Linked DNA regions of Homo sapiens: region 2 is linked to region 1. The links are contacts of gene promoters, found by promoter capture Hi-C in blood cells and fetal thymus (Javierre and others, 2016). All regions are on one chromosome and are shown on one strand. The core of a region is centred on a gene start or on the middle of the fragment in contact, and the rest is flanking DNA. Distances in the headings are between cores, read along the strand shown. Region 1 holds the start of PDCD10 (programmed cell death 10). Region 2 overlaps NMD3 (NMD3 ribosome export adaptor).

What was found. Contacts are between HindIII fragments. The CHiCAGO score rates a contact against its expected background, and 5 or more counts as called.
Region 2: a contact is called between a fragment that was not itself captured here and the fragment with the promoter of PDCD10 in region 1, in 1 of 17 cell types (total CD4 T cells). The highest score is 6.2, in total CD4 T cells.

Annotation. Positions count from the first base shown.
Region 1 is chr3:167,731,861-167,738,661 of GRCh38, forward strand. PDCD10 (programmed cell death 10) reads right to left here and starts at 3,032. Exons shown (of 9, transcript NM_007217.4): 1 at 2,802-3,032; 2 at 2,354-2,490. SERPINI1 (serpin family I member 1) reads left to right here and starts at 3,861. Exons shown (of 9, transcript NM_001122752.2): 1 at 3,861-3,963. RefSeq lists a silencer at 2,664-2,793 and an enhancer at 2,844-3,283. The HindIII fragment of the contact is 6,113 bases long and covers 1-4,136 here.
Region 2 is chr3:161,231,728-161,238,528 of GRCh38, forward strand. NMD3 (NMD3 ribosome export adaptor) reads left to right here. Exons shown (of 16, transcript NM_015938.5): 5 at 1,672-1,752; 6 at 3,000-3,128; 7 at 3,395-3,485; 8 at 6,386-6,464. Among named protein-coding and RNA genes, the nearest start is that of NMD3, 14 kb to the left of the region's middle. The HindIII fragment of the contact is 1,543 bases long and covers 2,334-3,876 here.

The DNA of each region.
Region 1 (6,801 bases), core at 1,782-4,281:
TTAAATTGAGACGTGAAAACTGACTACCAGGTGGCCACATTTAGGTAGGCGTGAGGGGAACAGTCCAAGGAGTGAGACGGAATATGTAAAGGCCACCAAGTCAGGAAGCAGCTTATGTATGTAGTAACTGAAAGGCATGGTAAATGAGAAAGGCTGGAGATAAGGACGGAGAGCTGGATAGGAGAAGAGATAAATTTTTAGTGTTAAACAGAGTAAGAAGGTAATAGTATTTGAATATTTAAGTCACGTTAAGTCTTCTTCTCATGTAAATAATCTAAGGGAACTAAGTCTTTACTCCAAAATATTAAAGATCTGTAGTCAGAAGATCTCGATTTTGTCTTACTCCCACCAGTTACAAGTCACTTAACCAACTTGAGCCTCTTCATTCTCTTTGTAAATATTATCTTACCTACTCAGACTACAATAATAAACAGCCCCTATTCTTACAGACCTTACATCCTTAAGAGAAACAGACAGATGTATAATATACGGAAGACATCCCAAGTCCTCTAAGAAATAATGTCCAAAAGCTGACATAAGGCTCCTGCAAAGTTCAAAATGAGAAGAAATGCAGACACTGGTGAGCTGCAAACCACGTGTACACATAACTCTGTGAACTCCTAATTATCCAACGTGCAGAGATCTAAAGTGACAACAGTACCGCAGCATGTGACTGAAAGATGATAACAACAATACAAACATTAATCCACCATCCGAATAGAAGAAATATCAAAACTATAATTGGCCTCAGAGATAAAGAGTAGTGGCAGAAATGAACCAAGAACAAAATCTAAAACACACTGAACAAATGCATTACATTAACTAATTTCCAAAATTTCCTCATAGTTCAAAAGCTCTTTCCATAATGACAGAGTTACATGCCAAAGGTTAGAACTTATTTCATACCTCCTTCAACAAAAGGCAAATACCTACATTGTCATCTAGAAAACAGATTAATATTCTTGCTTTACCATCACTGACTCATGTTCAGTTTACGGTCTACTTACATCACTGCACCTTTCTTAATCCAGCACAAAGTCAGTTATCACCACATAATTTTCCATTTGTTTAACTGGGTCTTCCTTGTCTGTGTACTACATTACTTATGGTACATTATTCCTGATTTTACTTCATTCTATAGTATCATACTTTTTCTATTTTAAAAATCGTATTAATTTCCAGACCATCTTAATTTCAACCATCAGGGAAGATAATACCTCTGTTCCGAAAAAATGTTTTTCCATTAAAAAGTGAAGCACATTGTTGATAATATAGTAACTGCAGAGTACATTCAAAATTCAGCATAGTCTGATGATCAACTTATATATAAAACAGTAAGCTATGATTTATTACATGTTAAGAGTAAGCCATGATTTATTACATGCTAACCTGTATGGATATAAAGTTATCACAAATAAATTCTGCCATCAATGAACATACTCTAACAATTCTATTAAAAACTTATCCAATAATAATAGTCATGAGCTATAACTGGTCATAATCATTATAGAGGATAAGACTTGCATAAAGGCACTACTTTCTGCAAGATATGAACTATACGTGTACTGTTTTTTCATTCTTCAATGTAAAGTAAGAATGAATTGAAAGTCACAGTTGATGCTAAGAAAAATAAAAATATGCAAGAGCCCAATTTTATTATTTGCAGACACACACACAAATACAGCCCAGAGTCAAGAAAATGGGGGAAAAGTAAAGTCTCAAAAAAGACGATGTTACCTCCAAGAAATGCAAAATACCTTCTTTTCTAGTAATGGGCACACTAAACTCTCCTAACGCTACATTATTTGAAAAAAGTGTAGTTTTGTGAAAGAATTCCAATCCCACTATTATCAGTTTTACAAAATGAGAGTAAAAACAGTCCTAAGGTAGAAAAAGAAAAGAATATTCTTCTAAGGATGGGATATATTGTTTAACTGTTGTTCTCCCATCCTATTACCTACCCGTAAAAATGAACTGTGAGAGTAGAGTCTATCATTTAATACACCCCTAAAAAAAGGGGAAAAATCTGTAAAAGTTGAAACTGGCCATTTTTATTTTTTCCAAAAGGATCTTTCCTTTATTGAGGAATTTCACTCCGGTTCAAGAAACAACTTTTTATCTCACAATGGCTTCTTAGATATACTATATAAAATACATTTACTTTGTAACTTCCTCCACCCTTTTCAAAAAGCACAACCAACGTCCCTACTCTAAAGCTGGACTCGAACCGAACTAGATTCAGAAAGTCTGTCCCTACGTGTGTGACCTTGGGCACGTCATATAATCCCTCGGTTTCCTCATCAGCATCCCAAAATGAAAGCGCTCTGAAAGCAGTAAAGGAGTAAAAACATACCTTAGGTATGACACCTAAGAGGGTCAAGTCTTTCTGTTTAAGGCAAAATTATCTCCTTAGAGGGCCACATCATTAAACTGGAACTGAATCCGTAGACCCCAACATTTGTCTCTTCCTTCTTCCAGTGCTCCTCTTCCCTCAAAGGGCATAACCCGAGTCACCCCCAAGAGCCGACTCCCAAGCACCCTTTCCTTCCTCCTCCCTTTTCTCTTACTTACAAAGCAGGGGGAAAACAGCAGCCTCACCTCTCGGTCCGAAGCCACACCTTCAAAGGACCCCACCCCAGGCACATCCGCCCTGTCCCCTCTCCCGGGGCACCAGGGGCCAACCTCGCCCTTCCCCTCCCGCCCCCACCTAGAGGAGACTTCCTGGAGGCGTTCGGGCCCAAGCCGGCAGGCGGCATTTACAAACCCGCTTTACGCCACTCGCGTAGGGTAACCTCGCTTACGCCCGTAGGGCCCCGCTCTCAGCCCCGTCCGCTCCGCCTGCCAGAACCAAGCCCAAGTGCCTCAGCCATGGCCCCTGCGTGACCCTAGACCTCTTCTGCTCGGTGCAGAGCTACGGGGACTGGGACAGAACAGCTACACCTTACCAGCAACTGAGGCACTGACTTCACTTCCCACCTTGCAGCCCTCTTCAACTCCCGGATCAATTCACTCCGGCGACGCCGGAAGGACCCAAGAGGAACCAGGCGTTGTCCGGAATCCTGCCCAGCCGGAGTCGTGCAGAGGCTTATGGGGACTCGTAGTCCCGCTCGCCGGCGTTGTCCGCAATTCCTGCAATCGGAAGACTACACTTCCCGGCAGGCCATGCGGGGGATCCTGAGGCGATGGGTGGTGACACTTCTAGCCAATAGTAGGAGAATTCCCTGCCTTTGCGGGAGGAGGTGAGATGAAGAGAGATGGTGCACGGAAAGGAGAGGAAGGGCGGGGCAAGCCCTCACCTGCGCCAATCAGGGTGCGGAGTAGGCCCCGCAGGCGCCTCACCCATTGAGGGGGCGGGCTGACAGAGCAGAGGAAGGAAGGGGGTGAGGGGCCTGTGGTGGGGATCCTGGGGCTGTCGGGCTGAGTATGCCGTGTGGGTGGAGAGGAAGCCTCGGGGAAATCGCCCAGGTGAAGGGAGGGCTTGGTGTGGGGACTTGCACTGGGCAGAGGGGCAGCTTCCCTGAGAGCAGCTAAGCCCCAGGCACACCGGGCATCCGGACACACAGGTCGGGGAAGGATAGGCTGAGCCGGGGCTCCCAGCAGAGACGCCTGGGTGGGGCAGGAGGCCGCTCCAGGTGTGAGCCACAGAGGAGGGGAGAGGGACCCCCACGGGAGTGGAAGTGGCAGAGCAGCTGCAGAAGTGCAGGGAGCGGAAAGGTACCAGGGCAGCTGCTTTCCGCTGCCTCCGGTCCGGGCAGCTGCAGAAACAGCAGGGGGAGGAGCAACAGCTGCCAAATTCGCCAACTAGAGGAGGGAGAGGCGGAGCTTGGGTCCCTGTAGAAGCCAGAGGCGCAGTCTGGACTGTAGTTTCCCGGGAGAGACGAAAGCAGGAACGAGAGCGGAGCGGAGCACAGTCCGCCGAGCACAAGCTCCAGCATCCCGTCAGGGGTTGCAGGTGTGTGGGAGGTAAGCGTGGGTCCTTCTTCGGGGCGTCTGCACTGCCCTGGAGAAAACGTCTTCCAATAGGAATTACATCAAGACACAGCTAAAAGAGTCCGCGTTGGGTTAGGAAACCGGTGCAAAACCTCTCGGGTGAAAGATTTACATTTTTCGACTTTAAGGGCAAAAAAGCAAAAGGAAGCTTGACTCTGGGTATAAAGGGCGTGGTTAGTGTTTTTGGTTTGAGTTGCACCAGTAAAACTGTTCTGGGAGATCTGAAGATTGAGAAAAATCCTGCTAATTGAGGACGAGGTGGATGTTATCTGGTGGATGTTATAGGTGCGTAGCCTATAAAAAGCAAAAATTTTGCTATTGATATAGAATAACTTCTGAACTATTTCACTAGGAAAATAACTTTGCATTCTTCTTCAGTGTCTACCCTTTACGTTGGTTTATCAGATTGTCCTGCTACCGACCTGTTATCCAGGGTGGTTATTTTGCAGTTTCCTAGAATTGCAAGAAATCCGTATTAAAGAAGCAAGTGCAGGCAGGAATAGTCAGGATAGGATGGGCTCTGACTTAATCTATCAAAAGTATAACTTTTGCCAGCAATAATGTAAAAATGAATTTTAATGAATGGATAGTTAGCTTTCTTCCCAGTGGCTCTGGAATATTGGAACAAAGACCTGGATTCAGCCTACAATGGAAACATATGGTGTACCTCACTGCTGCTCGTTAGTTTCTCATTTGTGTCCGATAATATGTGTACATTTTAAAAACGAGTACATGGAAAGCTGTGTGGGAATCTTTTCTCTGGGTAGAGAGTATGTGCTGAAGGACTACCCTTAATATGTGTTATGATAGTGGGTTCAGTTTAAAACACATGTAGTGTCATAAAATAATAGTTTATTCTCGGTATTAAACTATATGTGCATTCAAAGCAACGTTAATTGTAATACCTATGGATGGAAATAAGTTGTAATGCTGGGTAAAGATGAAAGTCTCACCTACCTTTGTGTAATTATGACAAAATTACAGCCTTTTATTTTTAGAGAAGTAGTAAGAAGCTATTTTCCTAGTTCATTTTCATTTTGTTACAGAGGTTCCCAGATTACATGGCTTTTAATCATAGTAGCATATTGCAGCAAATTTTGCTCTGAAATGCTTTCATTGTGACAGTTGCATATTTCAGAGTCTGTCTCAATACTTTATGTTTTTTTTTAATAACCAGGGTCAATAAAATGGAGTAATTGTCTTGTTTTCTCCTATTTCTATGCTTTCCTGAGTTCTCGGGATTTTAAATTTTATTTTTGTAATGCATCCCAAATTTCTTTTTGAAAAGAAATGGCTCAAATGAATTCTCTTCCCAGATTAAAGTTCAGTCCTACTGAGTGCTACTACCGATAAGCCTAAGTGACTTTTCAGTGTGTATACTCTTCCCTCCCACACTCTCACATACCATAGAAATATATAGACAGATAGATCATAGAAAAACAGCTGCTTTTTAATTACCCCTAAGCAAATCAGCTAAGTATCAAAAACAGCAAAGAGCTTAGAAGAAAGAAAAAGCAACAGTAGCTGCTAAACTTAACCACTATAAGGATCAGGTTTTATCTTTGCTACAGCACTGGAGAATCTATTAATTCACATAGCTGATATGGCCCTGTGAAAATGATTTTGGGGGTAAAAAAAAAAGTGGGTATTAGGGTGACACATGGAAAAGACTGTGTTTGCCCTTGTTATTTGTGATTAAGTGGATTGTCTTGAATCAGTCTTAGATTCTTTCTCAGACCCTACTACTAATTCATTTTGTAAAACTGAATAATTGCTGTCGCTGGGTTATTTCCCCTATGTAATAATTATAATACTACCAATGAAATTCTTTCCGAGCCTTTATTAAAAGATCTGTTTGAAAGAGTTTTATTGGGAAACAGTTAATAAGCAAGCAAATGGATAGAAGATAAATATCTAAACAGTTGAAATTAAGATATACTTTGAATCTCAGCTCTTTATAGGTCTTCTGCTCTGAGACACGGTAAAGGATAGAATCTGATTAGGAATGAATGAGTTTGTGGTATTAAAGTACTGATTTTTTTCACCTGTTTCCAAGATTTGGATCCTTTTTACTGTGTCAGTAAAAGAGATTGGGTTTCAATATCATTTGAAAAAAGACCATGTTTTTATATGAGAGAATATCATTGGAAATATATGGCATTTATTTTTTACCTTGCACTCTTGATTCATGTTAGTTAATATTCACATTCAATCTCAGGTAATCTGAAGATTTTTCTTGATTGGTGTTGAAAACGTTCGTTATATGGCAGTTTATAATTCTGTGTAAAATGCTACCCATGTTATAAGCATATTACTTATTTTGCTCTTTAATTTTACTATTTGTGTATGGCTATCAGTGAATATGTATGATGAGAAAGGAAAAGCAACAGAGTGCAGAATGTCTCTCTTGAATGGAAATTGCTCTGGGGATGATTGTTCTTTAGCCAAAAACCTTGGTTAATTTCAAATTACCATATCCTTTGGTCTTTTCTTTAGAGTTCTGATTCTAAGCCTTTTGAGTAAAAATAAGTTAGCATGGATTTCTTTTTAACAGGAAGATTCACTGATGCATGCAGCACAAAAGAGCAAGACTTAAAGGTTCAAGATCAAATGGTTTTGGTAAAGAAGGATACAGGGGAATAGATATAAAGAAAACTACTTGAGAAACACACCTTTAGCAAAAGAGAAAAAAGATTTTATATTTTTTGTTAAATTCCTATAATCCATGATTCCATGACCTTTTCTCCCCCAGTCATTAATTTGTAGAGGCCTGTATTCATACTGGGATACATTACTTTTCTAAGTAAAATT
Region 2 (6,801 bases), core at 1,855-4,354, 6.5 Mb before region 1:
CACTTTATATAGCTGCAGGGGAGAGAGAAATCAGGAGATCTAGAAGGTGAAGGGAATGTTCAGCAAAGTTGAGGATTTAGGAGATTTCATTGTTAATGAATGTTGAGCTCCGGAGGGCACAGTAGAAGGGTTTTAGGATTCGGGGAGGAGTGTTAGATGGGGACAGAATAGGGAATATGCATAACCATATGGAAATTGGAGTATGGGAAATAGGGGTGACTGAGGTGTCTGGGACTATGGTAAAGAAAGAAAGGGACTAATAAAGTTGATTAGTCATGGTTGTCTGAGGACACATAGTGCAGTGGTTGTGTTGGGGAATGCCGAGCAGGATGTCAAGGAGACTCTCCATTCCTGCAGGTGGAGGTTGGAGCTTGAGGGGAAGATCAGTCTTATTCAGTGCCTTTGGGGCTTTTTTTTTTTTTTTTTTTTTAACCACTGCTGATGGAGATTGAAGGAATAGGAATCTGCCTATCACCCTGTGTACCTGGCATCACTTGTTAACTACTAGGCTTTGTTTTAGGGAGGCCAGCTATATGAGGAGGGTTTTACTCTGGTGTGTTGAATCTTTGCATCTACACTAAAAGTGGCCAGTCTACTTTTTACCAGACAGTGCTTGATAAAAGTATAATCTGCTGCTGATACCTCTCAAATCTGTTAACTGCAGCCCAAATTTTTTTATAGATCTCCAGACCAATTGTATCTTACTGTTCACTGAAAAGTCCTCTTGGGTATCTCACAGATACTGTCTTAAACTGAAATGTCTGAAATCAAATGTAACATCTTTTTCTCATTATATCCATTGTTTATTTCGGTATAGGTAGTCACAAAAAGTGTACTGCCTAGTTGTCTAAGCAAATACTTGAGCATCATTCTGGAGTCTGTTCTCTTCCTCTTTTCCATATCCAGTTACCATTAAATCTTACAGATTTTTTTTCTGCATCACTTGGACTGTGCAGATAAATCTTACAGATTTTTATCTCCTAACTAGCCCTTGCATCTGCTTTTGTTATTTCCAGTGCCTCTCAGTTCAGATCATCTACAATCTGGCCCAGGTTATTACAGCAGCCTCCATTCTTGTTCTCCCACCCACCCCTTCTCCCCAAACACCCATTCTGGCCATTCTTGAGTTATATTCAGATCTTCACATATAGCAAACTGTTTTGGCCTATGCAGATGCTGCAGATTTAGTAGTGAGTTATAGTTGTGGATTTAGTATTCAGTGCATGCAACTTCTCTAATCAATGTCACTTCTTAAAAAAAGTCACAGAATATAGAGAGAATAATCCAAGTGGAAACTTTTGTTCATGAGGTTACTAATAAATAATGAGGTCACAAGGTCTTTGCTTTCCTCCAAAAAATATAATTTCCTTTTAAAGGACAATGTACTTTTTTTTTTTTTTTAAGGGAAAAGAATTTTTTTCCTATGCAAATACTTTAATTTTTGCTTAAATTATATCAGTTGCATTAATATAGTCATTGGGTTGTCCTTTGATTTGCTGCTGTTGTTACGTAACCAATGATTAATCTTTTTTTGTGATGATGGTGTGTAGTATGCTGATCACAGATTCCTTAAGCATCTTATGAAATCTGCTTATTGATGATTTGTTCTTTCGTGTTTTTTTTCCTCCTAGGTGAGAACTTACGTTTCTTTTTGTTTGTGTTTTATTGAAGGTACGGCTTGTAGATGCAGGCTTTGTTTGGACTGAGCCTCATTCTAAGAGACTTAAAGTTAAACTGACTATTCAGAAAGAGGTAAGCAGTACATAATTTTCTCAGCATGGTTAAAGTGCAGGTAGTGAAAATGAAGACCCAGTGATAAGTTATTTTATGGCTTGAACAGCTTAAAAGAAAAAGAGTACACTCAATTTTAGCTGTTTGTTTTCTTTTGAGCATCTGTACAAATAATTAGATCACTAGTAAGAGTAGTCATTGCTTCTGATTAGCAGACTTACTTTTCCAGAGTTATTTTTATTAGGAAAGGATTGAAGTAAAAACATGGTCTAAGGTACTGATCCTCAAACTTGGCTGATCATTGTAATGACTCATCATAACTGAAGCAAAAATTCTCTGTATGTGAGGCCGGGAATCTATAAGTAGGTTGAGTATCCCTTATCTGAAATGCTTGGGACAAGAAGTGTTTCAGATTTTGGATTTTTTGGATTTTGGAATTTTGCATTATACTTAACTGGTTGAACATCCCTAATTCAAATACAAAATGTTCCAGTGAACATTTTCTTTGAGTGTCATTTAGAAACTCAAGAAGTTTCAGATTTTGAAGCTGAAATTTCAGATTCTGGGTTTTTGGATTTGGAATGTTCAATCTGTATTTAAAAAGCTTCCCATGTGATTTCTGATCAGTTATGTTTGGGAATCATTAAATTAAGGAATTTTTTTTTTGAGAAGTTTTCCTTATTTTTTTCTTCTAAGGATGATTTTTCTATGTAAACATGTATAGGCTGGGCATGGTGGCTCACACCTGTGATCCCAGCACTTTGGGAGGCCAAGGTAGGCAGATCACTTGAGCCCTGGAGTTCGAGACCCCATCTCTACTAAAAATACAAAAGTTAGCTGGACGTGGTGGTGTGTGCTACTTGGGAGGCTGAGGTGGAGAATCACTTGAGCCCAGGAGGCAGAAGTTGCAGTGAACCAAGATCGTGCCACTGTACTCCAGGCTGGGCAACAGGCAGAGTGAGACCCTGTCTCAAAAAAAATTATATATATATATATATATGTAAAATATACACAGAATATTCTCACAACCACTTCAGCTAAAGGAAAATTTGAAATGCTAATCTAATAAATCTTAGGAATTAAATCTGTATACCGTTCTTGAAATAGTATAACTTGTTTTTATGACTTTAAATTTGAGGACATTTGATTGATGTCCTCAAAGCATTAATGGAAAAAGTTTTAAATTAAATATTAAAGGTTCTTCTTTAAAGAAAATATTTGTTATTAAACAAAACCAAAAGAATGAAGGAGTGTAATTGTTTTATCAGGTGATGAATGGTGCTATCCTTCAACAAGTGTTTGTGGTGGATTATGTTGTTCAGTCCCAAATGTGTGGAGATTGCCATAGAGTAGAAGCTAAGGATTTCTGGAAGGCTGTGATTCAAGTGAGGCAAAAGGTAATGAGAGAAGATGATGAGTGAGTCCTACATCTTATATTTCGTCTTTGTTAATTATAACTTTTCCTTCTTTCTAAATCCAGGGATAGTCTGGGTCCCTGAAGCATTCACCTTTGGAAATAGATCATTATTACATTTTAGATAATCTTTAAAGATTGTTATTGTTTGAAAAATCAGTATGCTCTATCTGTAGATAGTATGTGTGTCCTATACCTATAAATGGCTTTTTTGTGGGGCATTTATTGATCAAATAATTTATATTTTAGACTTTGCATAAAAAAACTTTCTACTATCTGGAACAGTTAATTCTGAAATATGGAATGCATCAGAATACACTTCGTATCAAAGAGATTCATGGTGAGTTAAAACTCAAAAGCATTTGAAATTATGTCAGATTTTTATTTCAACATACCTAAGTAATCTTATATTTACTGATAATATCTGGATTAGTACTGTCCAAAAGAACTTTCTGTTAGGAAAAAAAAAAAAAACAACTTAATTCTTTATCTGCACTGTCCAGTATGGTATAGTCACTAGCCACATTTGGCTGTTGAGTACTTGAAATGTGGCTAGAGCAACTGAGAAACTGAATTTTTAATTTTCTGCTAATGTCAAACATAATTATCTTTTTATGTTTCATACCTAAGTATGATATTTCTTGAGGTTTCTGTTTGATACATATGCATACATACTTCTGTCCAATCTTGCTCTCAGTTAAGTGAGTGACATTGAAAAGAGTTAGAAAGAAAGCTTGCCTTCTTTCTACCTAGCATTTAATTAACCTCTAGAAGTTTTTTAAGAACTTGCCCATTAAGCCATCCAATTTGATATCTCCTAAGGGACGTCTTTTCAGTTTCTTTTATGATATTCACCTCTCAGGTATTCTACCCCTTGAGTCAATTTTAATACCATTTTCCAAGAAAAACCATTTCATCTAGCTTTTTAGATTCTTGGTATAAAATTGAACAAATAAAATAAATCTCATCCGTAACTGTAGTTATGTCCTCTCTATTGTTCCTAATGTTTATCTTTTCTCTTTCTACTCACCTCACCTTAGACTAGCTACTTTTATCTATTATGTTAGTTTTTTCAAAAAACTATTTTTAGTTTTAAACAATCTTTTTATTAATTTTGTTTTTAACACTAATTCCCTCAACTCTATTTAGTTCTGTTTTGTTTTAATTAATTGAAAGCTTAGTTTATTTTTAATTTCTAATACATATATTTAAGATCATAAATTTTCTTCTGAGTACTATAATGGGTCTGTAGCTGGTACTTATAGCTACCTTTTTCCACTGCCCATTGCATATTTTATTTGCCCTCAGCAAGCACCTCAGCTGTTTCATTCTTTTGGGTACATACTTAGGTGTGGAATTACCAAGTCATATGGTAAATTTATGTTTATATATAAAAAACTACCAAACTGCTTCAAAGTGGCTGTACCATTTTACATTCCTGCCGCCAATATTTCTCTGTATCCTCCTCAACACTTGTTCTTATATTTTTGTTTATAGCCATTCTAGAGGGTGGTATGAAGTGGTATCTCATTGTGGTTTTAATTTCCATTTTGCTAATGACTAACGATGTTGAGCATATTCTGGATACAAGTCTCTTACTGCATATATGGTTTGCACATATTTTCTCCTAGTGTGTAGGAGAAAATTCACACTCTATATTCTTAATGGTGTCCTTTGAATTGCAAAAGTTTTAAATTTTGTTGAAGTCCAGTTTATCAAGTTTTTTCTTTTAATTGTGGTTTTGGGGTTATGCTTAAAAACTGTTTGTCTAATCAAGGTCACAAAGATTTTCTCCTATAGTTTCTTTCAAGTGTTTTATAGTTTTAGGTCTTATATATTTAGGTCTAACTCTTGAGTTAATTTTTGTGCAGAGTGTGAGATAAGTGTCTAAATTCATATTTTTCTATGTGGATATTCTTCATCCCAGTGAAAACTCTGTCCTTTCCTCAGTGAATGCCTTGGGTCTTCTGTCAAAGATCTATTGACTGTAAATGTAATGGTTTATTTCTAGAATCTGAAGTCTGCTCCCATTGATCTATATATCTATCCTTATATTAGTACCATGCTATCTTGCATACTTACTAAAGTTAGTGAGTTTTGACATTAAATGTGTAATGTTCATTTTCTTCAAAATTGTTTTGGCTATTCTGGGTAATTTTAGTATTGGCTGTTTTGGTAATTATATTTAGTTATTTGCAAGAATATCTTTAATATTTCTCAGCTAGGTAGGTTTGCTTTTGGCTATTCCTTTCTTGATTTCTAGTGCTACTGTTTTATGATGAGATAATGTTGTCTTTAGTAATTTCTACTGTTTAGGATTTATTGAAATTCTTTTTCTTTTTAAAATCTTAATACATGATTTTTAAATGAATGTTTTATGAATGTTTGATAAAATATGTATTCTTTCTTAGAACTGTGTTCTATAATCTCAGTTAACTCGACCTTGATAGTTGGTTATTCAAGTTCTGTGAATTGTTACTATTTTTTGTCAATATGATTATTTTGGTTTTGAGAGAGTCCTATTCTAGTCCTTCACAATGATTGTATGTGTTAATATTTGTTAATTTTTTCTTTTCTTTTTCTAGTACTTTTTGTTTTCTATCTCTCAGATAGTTTCCTGTTATCTTCTTGGTAGATTATTCCATTTATTACATAAAATAACTTTCTTTTTTTTTTTTTTTTTTTGACATGAAGTCTTGCTCTGTCACCCAGGCTGGAGTGCAGTGTTGCGATCTGGGCTCACTGCAACCTCCGCCAACTGGATTCAAGCGATTCTCCTGCCTCAGCCTCCCAAGTAGCTGAGATTTGGCACATGCCACCACGTCCGGCTAATTTTTTGTATTTCTAGTAGAGACGGGGTTTCACCAGAATGGTCTTGATCTCCTGACCTCATGATCCACCCAGCTCAGCCTCCCAAAGTGCTGGGATTACAGGCATGAGCCACCGCACCCGGCTGTTCATAAACTTTCTTTGTTCTTTGTTTTTCTGTCCCCCTTGGCCTTGAGTTTTATTTTTTCTAGAATTAGAATTACGAGTTTTATTTTCATTTGCTGATTTATTTTGTCTGTCTTTTTGCCAAAGAAGTCTTAAGTGATATCTCTAATCTGTTGTGACTACAATAGAGTTTTCTAATAATTTGATTTTGTTTAAAACAGATGTAATTTATAATATAGTCATGTTAGTAGAGGAGAATCCTATTTTGCATAATTATTTTCATAGGGCTTTTTTTTTTTTTTTAAGATGGTCTGGATTTTTATTATTCCTCAAAACAACATGCTCAGAAGATGGTCGAATTTCTTCAGTGTACAGTTCCCTGTAGGTATGTTCTGAACCTTGAATGTGACTAAATCTAAGGACTTGGGAATGGATGCGGATCACATATATTCTTCAGGCTCAGACAACTTCTCTTTATTTAAAATCGTAGTAGAAATACTTACACAATCAGGAAGCATATATTGGGTTAACCACCCACTCACAGAGGTGGTAGGACTTGTGCTCCAAAGATCGGGAAATTTTCATAGCTGGAGTTTATATTGAAAGGTACTATTAGTGTGAACAAAGATTTGCAGTGGGCGTTAGTATGGCTTTTAATAATGCTATATAGAAAGTAGATTGGTCTGAGCCAACAGCATGTTCTAGAGGTTTGGTGGAAAAGG